Linked DNA regions of Homo sapiens: regions 2 and 3 are each linked to region 1. The links are contacts of gene promoters, found by promoter capture Hi-C in human tissues and cell types (Jung and others, 2019). All regions are on one chromosome and are shown on one strand. The core of a region is centred on a gene start or on the middle of the fragment in contact, and the rest is flanking DNA. Distances in the headings are between cores, read along the strand shown. Region 1 holds the start of TICRR (TOPBP1 interacting checkpoint and replication regulator). Region 2 overlaps ARPIN-AP3S2 (ARPIN-AP3S2 readthrough). Region 3 has its middle 7.8 kb from the start of ZNF710.

The links. Contacts are between HindIII fragments. The study calls those that stand out against the background at their distance.
Region 2: a fragment that was not itself captured here is called in contact with the fragment with the promoter of TICRR in region 1 in 2 of the 25 tissues and cell types used here (hippocampus and liver).
Region 3: a contact is called between a fragment that was not itself captured here and the fragment with the promoter of TICRR in region 1, in 1 of the 25 tissues and cell types used here (hippocampus).

What each region holds. Positions count from the first base shown.
Region 1 is chr15:89,573,522-89,577,156 of GRCh38, reverse strand. TICRR (TOPBP1 interacting checkpoint and replication regulator) reads right to left here and starts at 1,688. Exons shown (of 22, transcript NM_152259.4): 1 at 917-1,688. The coding sequence starts at 1,570. RefSeq lists an enhancer at 761-1,289 and a silencer at 1,411-1,700. The HindIII fragment of the contact is 16,704 bases long and covers 1-3,635 here.
Region 2 is chr15:89,871,147-89,874,511 of GRCh38, reverse strand. It overlaps ARPIN-AP3S2 (ARPIN-AP3S2 readthrough), which reads left to right. Exons shown (of 10, transcript NM_001199058.2): 8 at 2,966-3,037. It overlaps AP3S2 (adaptor related protein complex 3 subunit sigma 2), which reads left to right. Exons shown (of 6, transcript NM_005829.5): 4 at 2,966-3,037. Among named protein-coding and RNA genes, the nearest start is that of MIR5009, 11 kb to the left of the region's middle. The HindIII fragment of the contact is 7,631 bases long and covers 1-3,365 here.
Region 3 is chr15:89,991,695-89,995,373 of GRCh38, reverse strand. No RefSeq gene overlaps it. Among named protein-coding and RNA genes, the nearest start is that of ZNF710, 7.8 kb to the left of the region's middle. The HindIII fragment of the contact is 5,795 bases long and covers 1-3,679 here.

The sequences.
Region 1 (3,635 bases), core at 439-2,938:
ACTTCGGGAGGCCAAGGCAGGCGGATTGCCTGAGGCCAGAGTTTGAGACCAGCCTGGGCAGCATGGAACCTGGTCTCCACTGAAAATACAAAAAAATTAGCCAGGCATGGTGGCGTGGGCCTGTAGTCTCAGCTACTTGGGAGGCTGAGGCATGAGAATCGCTTGAACCCGGAGGGGTGGAGGTTGCAGTGAGCCACTGCATTCCAGCCTGGGCGACATACACTGTCTCAAAAAATAATAATAAATAAATATATATATGTATATAAATAAATGTGTATATATATGTGTGTGTGTGTATATATATATATATATATATATATATATATATATATATACACACACACATACACACACACCCCTGGGTATTGTGTTAAAACCTGCTGCTTGCCTCTGAGGTATTTTTAGACTAGATGGAGGGTGAGAGATGTGCATAATCAAAACATATGGAGAAATGGTTAAGTGCCACACAAAATGTGTATGGCAATTCAGACGCTGGACTGAGCAGTTGTCACTGGGAGAAGAAGCCTTAAAGGGTAAGTGAAGTTAAGACTGGCCTGGAAGAGTGAGAACTGGCATTCCAGGCAGATTGAACAACACACATAACACAAAACAAGCAGTCCAGACCTGTTGATTTTCTGGACTGGACTTCAATATGCTAGAGTAGATGTAGTGTGTAGGAAAATCAAGTCTGGGAAGGCAGGTAGGGCCCAAATTGTGAGGGGTCTTAAACAGTAGGTAGTGAGGAACTACCCATTTTGTTGTGAAAACTGTTCCTATTTATTTGTTTCCTTCCGAAGGGACGCATAGTCATATTAGTCTCATTCGGGGTCTGTGGCTGTTCTAAGGACGCTGCCAAGTTCTGGTTAGCAAGGAAAGCACCGTGCACGCCATCTGAGACGACAGTAACCTTCCTTACCTTAGACCATTCGGTGGTATCCACCCAGTAGAAGGTGATTTTTCGGGCGACCATGACTTCCCGGACTCTCTTGGGCAACAACTTCTCCATCACCTGCTTAGGGGTGGGCGGCAGGCGCTGGGCCTGGGCCTCGCACCCAGACACGAACTGCAGCAGCTCCCTCTGCGAGTGCGGACAGGGGGCCAGGAGGAAGACGGCGTTCACCAAGCCCCCGAGCGCGGCCTCGGCCTCCTTGGCCTCGCTCTCCACGTCCAGCAGTCTCCTCCCGCTGCTCCGCAGGATCGGCTTCGTGGGCGACGTGATCTCGGGCCGGTCCCACTGGTAGTCTAGCAGCGTCTCCATCAGGGCGCCGTGCGTGTGGGTGGCCCTGGGCGCCGGGCCGGGCAGGTGGGCGCGATCCTCGAGCCTGGCCTCCAGCTCCTCCTCAAAGTCCTCCCACGAGCGGGACCCCAGCTCGCGGAAGTCAGACACGCGGGACGGCCGGCTCCGCGCCCCCTGCGAGTCAAAGAACTTGAAGGCCCAGTGGACCCTGGCCAGGCCGAATCGGCAACTCAGATAGGTGAGGAGGCGCAGGGCGGCCCGCCGGACCCGGCTGTGGCGGGCGGCGCCGCCCGCGGTGTCCAGCAGCAGCATTACTTTGTGACAGCATGCCATATCGGCCGTGCCGCCGCCCCGGGGCCCCGGTCCGGGCCCGCGCCACCGTCCCTTAGTCCCTTCCTTCAGGGAAACAGCACCACTCACTGCTTTCCTTTGGGACCCTGGTCGAAAGGCTCCCGCGCTCTCCAGGAACTGCTGCTATTGGGGGAGCTAGTTTCCAAGGTTTGCTCCTATTGGCTGCTTGCCTTACGTAAGTTACGAGAGCAACTTCCATTTTTGGCGGTGATTGGAGGGGCAGTGGAGAAAACTTCAGTCTGATTGGTGGAGGGAGTGACGGTGGGCGGGTCTCTGTGGTCCGAGAGAAGCTTAGCATTCATTGGCCTGGGCCTTCGTTTTAAATTTTAAAGAGGTGGTGCCTCGGGGGCGTGTCGAGAAGTTTCGCCATTGGAAAGAGGCCAGCGTTTGTGCGCAGTCGTGAGTGCGGACTGCGGGGCCACGTTTCCCAAGACCGAGGAAAACTTAGTGCCGGGAGGGAATTTGGGATGGTTTGAATCGAACTTGTTGAAATCCCTGTGGACCGCCTAGGAAGTAGAATCTGACGACTACGGCTTTTTCTGTAATTTAAAAAATTTTATTAAAAATTAAAGGTTCACTCCCTTTGCCCCAGTAACTTCTAGGAGTTTATCTGCAGAAGGTAATCGGAGAGCCAGATAAAAGACGTCTGTACATCTTAGAGTTTATTTAACATCAGAAAAAATGGAAACAGTTTGGGAATGGTTAAATAAGGTATGGTACACGCCCAAGGGGAGCATCGTGCAGCTCCTTTTTTTTTTTTTTTTTTTTTTTTTTTTTTTTTGAAACGGAGTCTCGCTCTGTCTCCTAGGCTGGAGTGCATTGACACGATCTTGGCTCACTGCAACCTCCACCTCCCGGGTTCAAGCGATCCTCCTGCCTCAGCCTCCTGAATAGGACTACAGGCGCACGCCACCACCCCAGACTAATTTTTGTATTTTTAGTAAAGACGGAGTTTCACCATGTTGGCCAGGCTGGTCTCAAACTCCTGACCTTGTGATCCACCCGACTTGGCCTCCCAAAGTGCTGGGATTACAGGCGTGAGCCACCAAGCCCGGCCTAGTGCAGCTTCTTAAAATAGTGTTTTATTATGTAATGTTAGGTTTTAAAAGTGGACTGCAAGCAGCACCTGCAGTGAATTCCCTAAATTTTCTATCTACATGTATATATAGATAGAAATCACATGTAGATTTGCATTACAGATAGAAATTATATATCGCTATATAGATAGAATACATAGAATTATATATAGATAGGCCGGGCACGGTGGCTCACGCCTGTAATCCCAGCACTTTGGGAGGCCGAGGCGGGCGAATCACCAGGTCAGGAGATCGAGACCATCCTGGCTAACACAGTGAAACCCTGTCTCTACTAAAAAAAAAAAAACAAAACAAAAAAAAAAGGAATTATATATAGATAGATAATCATAGATAGAAGTTATATATAGATAGAAATGCATTTATATGCATATTTTTAAACTGTTAATATAATATTGTGTACCGGAAGTTGTCTGTGATGGTCTCTCCATGTGATTTTTTTTGAAACTTTTTTACACTTCCTCTTGCTGGACACCAGTGAACAGGCTGATTTCAGAGATGTGAGATGTGCCTCTAGGATCAGTGGAATATGGTATTTGGAAAGAAGAAGGGGACAAAAAATGAAGGTCGGTTACCTGAATATGTGTTTAGGGAGATTGATCCAATACTCCACACCATTGAATTCTGCTTGCTAAGTAATTCTGTTTCCACCTGGAAACAGAACAACTTCCTTTATATGCTTTGGCTACAACTTCCTTTATGTGCCTTGGCTTCTCCAATCAAAGTCCTCAGCAATTACTGCCTCATGTACAACAATTTTCTCTTTTGGTTGAGTTTTCTAGGGCTGCCTGCCATAACAAAGGATCAAACCCAAAAATTGCCTCACAGTTCTGAAGGCTTGATGTCCAAAATCAAAGTGTTGGCATGCACTTGCTCCCCTCCAGCCCCCATGGCTCTAGGGGAGAATCATCCTTTGACTCTTCTAGTTTCTGATGTTTGCTGGCAATTCTTGG
Region 2 (3,365 bases), core at 805-3,304, 300 kb before region 1:
TGAGCCACCTCACCCAGCCTTAGTATTATACTATTTTAGTTAACAAAGCTTTACAATGAATTTTGATACCTAGAAAGACTGCACCCAGGTGAAATAAACAGCCTTGTTTCTCACACAAAGCCTGTTTGGTGGTCTCTTCACATGGACACGTGAGACAGATTTCGCTAGGGAAGCAAATAACCATGGAGGTGGGCAAGAAATATCCATGATTGTAGAGCTTTCAATCAGCCTTTTATTCTTGTAACAAATGAAAAACAAAGGATTATCAGACATCTGCGGAAAACCTCTAACATAGAAGAAGGAGATAAAATGAACAAACAATAAAAAGCAACTTAAAAATGGACACCATATAAAGAAAGGAAAACAGTTTAAAAAAAAAAAAAACCCAAAACCCTATTCTTAAGCTACAGAGAAAGCCTGGCCAACATGGTGAAACCCTATCTCTACTAAAAATACGAAGTATTTTAGCCAGGCATGGTGGCACATACCTGTAGTCCCAGCTGCTCAGGAGGCTGAGGCAGGAGAATCACCTGCACCCGGGAGGCTGAGGCTGCAGTGTTCTGAGATCACACCACAGCACTCCAGCCTGGGTGACAGAGTGAGACCTTGTCTCAAAAAAAAAAAAAAAAAAAAAAGCCACAGAGAAATAAGACATTTATTTTAAATAATAATAAGACCCATTTATTAATTAGAAATAAAATAAGACCCATTTATGTCTTATTGCTAAATGGGTGCTAAACAAAAACACTCACAGCCTTGTTGCTCACACAAAATGAACAAAATGGTCTCTTAGAAATAAAAAATGAGAGGAAATGGAAACAAACAAAAACCCACTTCAACTGAAGTATTAGAAAATCAAGTTAATCAATTGTCTCAGAATGGGCAGAGATGGAAAATGGGAGAGAAAAGATGAGAAAATAAGACAGAGGCCGGGCACAGTGGCTCACGTCTGTAACCCCAGCACTTTGGTAGGCCAAGACAGGGGGATCACTTAAGGTCAGGAATTGGATATCAGCCTGGCCAACATGGTGAAACCTCGTCTCTACTAAAAATACAAAAATTAGCCAGGCGTGGTGGTGCATGCCTGTAATCCCAGCTACTCAGGAGGCTGAGGCAGGAGAATTGCTTGAACCCAGGAGGCAGAGGCTGCAGTGAGCCAAGATCGTGGCACTGCACTTCAGCGTGGACAACAGAGCGAGAGTCTGTCTCAAAAAAAAAAAAAAAAGAAGACAGACAGAGGTCCAATACTTGAATATAAGCAGCTCCAAAAAGATTGATTAGGAATGTGGAAAGGAGGGAATTCTCAACAAAATAATTCGATAAAATTTCCCAGAACTGAAGGACTTGAACTGCAGGATTATAAGGGCTTACCAAGTACCCAGCATAGTGATTGAGAAATAGACCCATTTAACTATGTGTCCTTATAGTGAAATATTCTGGCACTGTTAAAAATGTAAAGATTTATGAATGGCACTAATATGAAATTATTGTATGTGGTTTTTGGCATACATGTATATATCTGTTAGATATGTTATCTGGGAGTAGAATTCCTAGATCATAGAGCATGCATACATAATGTCATAGTTTTCCAAAATGGTTGGTATCTGGCAAAATACAGTGCACTGGTTACCAGTCTCAAGAAAGGAATCTAAATGCTCTTGCCCATTGCATCTTGGTATCAGAGTCGGCAAGGAAAAAGTGCAAACACTGGATAAAGCTTTACTTACATAGAGAAGAGACAGAGCAGGATCAGCTCCAATAGTGTGCGTTGGTTCCTCATGGCAAGTGGGTCTGTCTCCCCAGCAGCCGCTGCAGGGTGGTTTGCCTATGAGCACCCATCTTGTGCTACAGTGGAACGGTGTGCCTGGTCTCTGTCACTTGCTGGCCTCAAGTAAGACCCATTTTCATGCAGTGCCGAACAATTCATGACACTGCTGACAATGAGATTGTTTAAATGAGGTCATTGTCTGAGAGAAATTAAACAGTTATAGATAGATACCTAGGTTGTAGTTACATGGTGTGTTCATTCTGAAAATTCATTAAACTGTGCCCTTGTCATTTGTACACTTTTCTGTTATGTTTTATTAAAAGTTAAAAGGTTCTATAGAGAAGTAAGCTCAGGGCTTTTAAAAAAAAATTTTAAGTTGTAAACACGTCAATTAAATTTATTCATAGGAAGGTATTTTGTAGGCTAAATAACTGACCAAAAAAATTAAAAAGGGAAGATGTTTTGAAGTTAATTTTGGCTGAAATTAAAACACAGCTATGTTAACCCTGTAATAATGAAAAATTTTTTGTACATGTATTCATTGAGGACATAGTATTGTAAGTAGTTGGTTTTTTTAATTTGTTATTCTTTTATGTAATTTTTTTTCTTTTTTCTTTTTTTTTTTTTGAGAGACTCTCACTCTGTCACTCAGGCTGGAGTGCAGTGGTGCGATCTCTGCTTATGGCAACCTCCACCTCAAATGATTCTCATTCAAGCTATTCTCGTGCCTCAGCCTCCCAAGTAGCTGGGACTATAACAGGCTCGTGTCGCCACACCCAGATAATTTTTGTATTTTTAGTAGAGATGGGTTTTCGTCTTGTTAGCAAGGCTGGTCGTGAGCTCTTGGCCTCAAGTGATCCTCCTGCCTTGGGCTCTCAAAGTGCTGAGATTGTAAGTATGAGCCACCATGCCCTACCATAAATTAGCATCTTATAAAGGGGGAAAGAGCCACATGTGTCTGCTGGTTGTGTTGCTATGCTGAAAACAAGGTTTTCCTGTCCTAGATTATTCCCTCTAAATCGAGATAAGTAGGGTGATCAGCTAATGCTGGAGACAAAAGGTAGGTGTTTTAATTTTTGAGATTTATCATAAAGTAAATAGTATTGTGACAGCCCCTTTTACTTTCAGATGTGACATTGATAAAGCTGTGAATGTGTTCCTATTTCTCTTCTTTATCTATTTCTCCTTGTTTTCTAGGTTTTTGTGGAAACTCTGGATAAGTGTTTCGAAAATGTGTGTGAATTGGATTTGATCTTCCATATGGATAAGGTATATTCTCTTGCAGTTCTCTTCCAAACTAGGGTTACTAGAAAACCAAGAGCCTTGGGCATCTGTAGCCACCTCTACATCTTCATATTGTTTCTTGTTTTTTTTTACTCTTAAGATAGTCCTAGAACATGTTTTATTTAATAGATTTAATAGTTTGGGTTTTGTTTTGTTTTTGCTAAGATCTACTAACAGTTTTAACGTGCATAAGATTATTACTAGGCCTATATCGTGGTTCATCTGTTCACAGACTGATTTCTTGATATAGGAGAATGATGTCACTGGCTACTTGGCCAAAGGTGAGATAAATAGTTTTATGCTGATTATAAAA
Region 3 (3,679 bases), core at 256-2,755, 420 kb before region 1:
GGCTTGAACCAATTAGTTAATTAATCCTATACACATAAATTTAAGAATAGAAATATGCCAAAAGAAACATGGGTCATTACAACTGCCAGCTTCACCGAAGAGTTACAAATAAATTAAATGTAAAAGCCACAGTGATGATACTTATGGCTACAGGAGGGCAAATTGGTACAAAGCCTGGAAAATAATTGGATATGAAAGATCAAGAGAAGCTTAAAAATTTATACCCTTTGATTCAGTAACTCGAATTCTAGAAATCTGTTCTTGAGAGAAATAATCAGCAATGTGAACAAAGATGTGTTAAGCATGTTTATGAAAGTATTATTTATATTGGCAAAAGTTAAAAATAGGAAAAAAGAAGGAAAGAAAGAAGGAAATAATCTAAATATCCAAAAATGATGGAAATGTTTAAAGAAGTTATGGCATGAACATCTGATGTAATACTATATAAGCTATTAAAAATCATGTTTTTGAAGAATAATGACTTGGGAAGTGTTTGTAATATGCTGAGTGAAATATAAAATTGCATATGCATCAGAATTATATATATTTAAAATTTGGTATATACATGTATACTTATCCGGAAAAATGCATGTAAAATGCCTGGAAGAAAATATACAAGTTTTTAAAAAGTTATTTCTGGCTGGGCTCAGTGGCTTACACCTGTAATCCCAGCACTTTGGGATGCCAAGGTGGGCAGATCACGTGAGGTCAGGAGTTTGAAACCAGCCTGGCCAACATGGTGAAACCTCATCTCTACTAAAAATACGAAAAATTAGCCAGGTGTGGTGGTGCATGCCTGTTATCCCAGCTACTCAGGAGGCTGAGGCAGGAGAATCACTTGAACCCAGGAGGCAGAGGTTGTGGTGAGCCGAGATCACGCCATTACACTCCAGCCTGGGTGACAGAGTGAGACTCTATCTAAAAAAAAAAAAAAAAAAAAAGTTATTTCTGTTTCTTGAAATTATAGGTGATTTAATTTTCTTCTTTATCCCTTAGTGTACTTGCCCAACTTCTTTTTTGTTTCTTTTTCTTCCTTCCTTCCTTCTTTCTTTTTCTTTCTTTTCTCTCTCCTTCCTTCCTTTCTTTTTCTTTCTTTCGTTTTTAGAGACAGGGTATTGCTCTGTCACCCAGGCTGTAGTGCAGTGACACAATCCTGGCTCACTGCAGCCTTGAACTCCTGGGCTCCAGCAGTCCTCCTGCCTTGGCCTCCCAAAGTGCTGGGATTATAGGCATGAGCTATCACGGCTGGCCCTATTTGCCAAATTTCTATAATTATTATATATTTTTTCTCTTTCTTGAGCAAGGTGTATTTATTTTTCATTTTTCCTCTCCTGGATTATTAAGGTATAATTGGCATAAAAAAATACACATAATTAATATATACAATCTGTGAGTTTGGACGTATGTATATACTCCTGTGACAGTCACCACAGTTAGTATATCCATCACCTCCAAAAGTTTCCTTGAACCCCTTTGTTGTTCGTTTTGTTTGTTTGATTGTTTGTTTCTGTGGTAAGAATGATTATATTAATTTTGAACAATAAATTATATATTTAGGAAACAAGGTCTAGGCTTATGGTTCACTTCAGAGTCAATGGTGAGAAGACCTAGGCCAGGCCTTCAAGGAGCTTCCAATCTTCAGGAGAAACAGCCATGCAAACAGAAGTGATGCTGCAGAGTGCAATTATTTCTCCTCCCTTGGAAATGTTTGAAACCTAGGAGGAAAGAGGAACCAGCGTTTTGGTTGCTGATGATTTGGGCTCTGGGTTGAATAGACTATCTATTGTGAAAGTGTATTGTGCAAAAAGAGAATAGAGCTTTTTGTGAAGGGAGATAAAGAGGGTGTAGGGTGGGAATGAGGAGGATGGGGAAGGAGGGGGCAGGGCCAGGCAGATCCCTGAGAGGCCTGGAAGCACTTATCCTGTGGGTGGACTTCAGGGCTGCCCAAAAGTCCCTCCAAGTTGTCCTCCCCACACTGCACATGGGTCTTGGTGTCCAGGGCCAGCCTGGTAGCTGGCATCACATTCATGACAGGAGTTCAGTAAATGTTTATTGCCCATAAGAATACATGAATGTGGCTCACACCTGTGATCCCAGCACTTTGAGAGGCCGAGGCGGGTGGATCACAAGGTCCGGAGATCGAGACCATCCTGGCTAACATGGTGAAACCTTGTCTCTACTAAAAATACAAAAAATTAGCCAGGCATGGTGGTGGGCACCTGTAGTCCCAGCTACTCGGGAGGCTGAGGCAGGAGAATGGCGTGTACCCGGGAGGTGGAGCTTGCAGTGAGCCGAGATCACGCTACTGCACTCCAGCCTGGGCAACATAGCGAGACTCTGTCTCGAAAAAAAAAAAAAAAAAAAAGAACACGTGATACATGAATAAAGGCTGGGTGCAGTGGCTCACACCTGTGATCCCAGCACTTTGGGAGGCCGAGGCAGGCAGATCACAAGGTCAGGAGTTCGAGACCAGCCTGACCAACGTGGTGAAACCCCGTCTCCACTAAAAATACAAAAATTAGCCAGGCGTGGTGGCGTGCGTCTGTAATCCCAGCCACTCAGGAGGCTGAGGCAGGAGAATCACTTGAACTCAGGAGGCGGAGGTTGCAGTGAACTGAGATCGTACCACTGCACTCCAGCCTGGAGGATAGAGTGAGACTCCATTTAAAAAAAAAAAAAAAAAGAATGCACGAATGAATGAACATGTAACATCAGGAATCACTCCCATGATTTCTTTTAAGGCATTAATAAAACAGTCTGAAAGACTGTGAAGCTGTGATGATGGGCAAGACAGGAGGGGAATTTAGCCTTTTTTGGGGGGACATGGTCTCACTCCGTCTCCCAGGCTGAAGTGCAGTGGTGCAATCACAGCTTATTGCAGTCTCGACCTCCTGGGCTCAAGCCATCCTGCCATATCAGACTCCTCAGTAGTTGGGACTGCAGGTGCACGCCCAGCTAATTTTTTATTTTTTGTAGAGACAGGATCTCACTTGTTGCCCAGGCTGGAGATATTTTCTTAAGTGAGAAATGGAGGTATAGAATGCCTGGCTATGCAGCAGCAGCACCATCTGGGCAGAGGGCGGAGAGGAATGCTGTAGGGTGAGGGTTTTGCCATGTTGAATCTTCAGACATGAATTCTCTTTTTGTCCCCTTCCTTTGCTTTTATTCTTCATTCAATCAACAAACATTTGTTGTGACCTGACGATGTACTGGCCACCATCAAGGGTCTCCCAGGCAACCAAGGATGACAGATGTACACTGACTTATACAGTAGCAGAAGAGGTGTATCCTCTCAGCTCTTCTCTGTAGGAAGGAGACCTTCCTGTAAGAGGTGATGTTTAGGCCGGGCACGGTGTCTCACGCCTGTAATCCCAGCACTCTGGGAGGCCAAGGCGGGCAGATCACGAGATCAGGAGCTCGAGACCAGCCTGACGAACATGGTGAAACCCCGTCTCTACTAAAAATACAAAAAATTAGCCTGGCGTGGTGGCGCGCCTGTAATCCCAGCCACTCAGGAGGCTGAGGCAGGAGAATCGCTTGAACCTGGGAGGTGGAGGTTGCAGTGAACTGAGATCGCGCCACTACACTCCAGCCTGTCACCGGCTGTGACAGAGTGAGACTCCATCACTCCATCTCAAAAAAAAAAAAAAAAAAAAAAAACCAAAAAAAGAGGTGATGT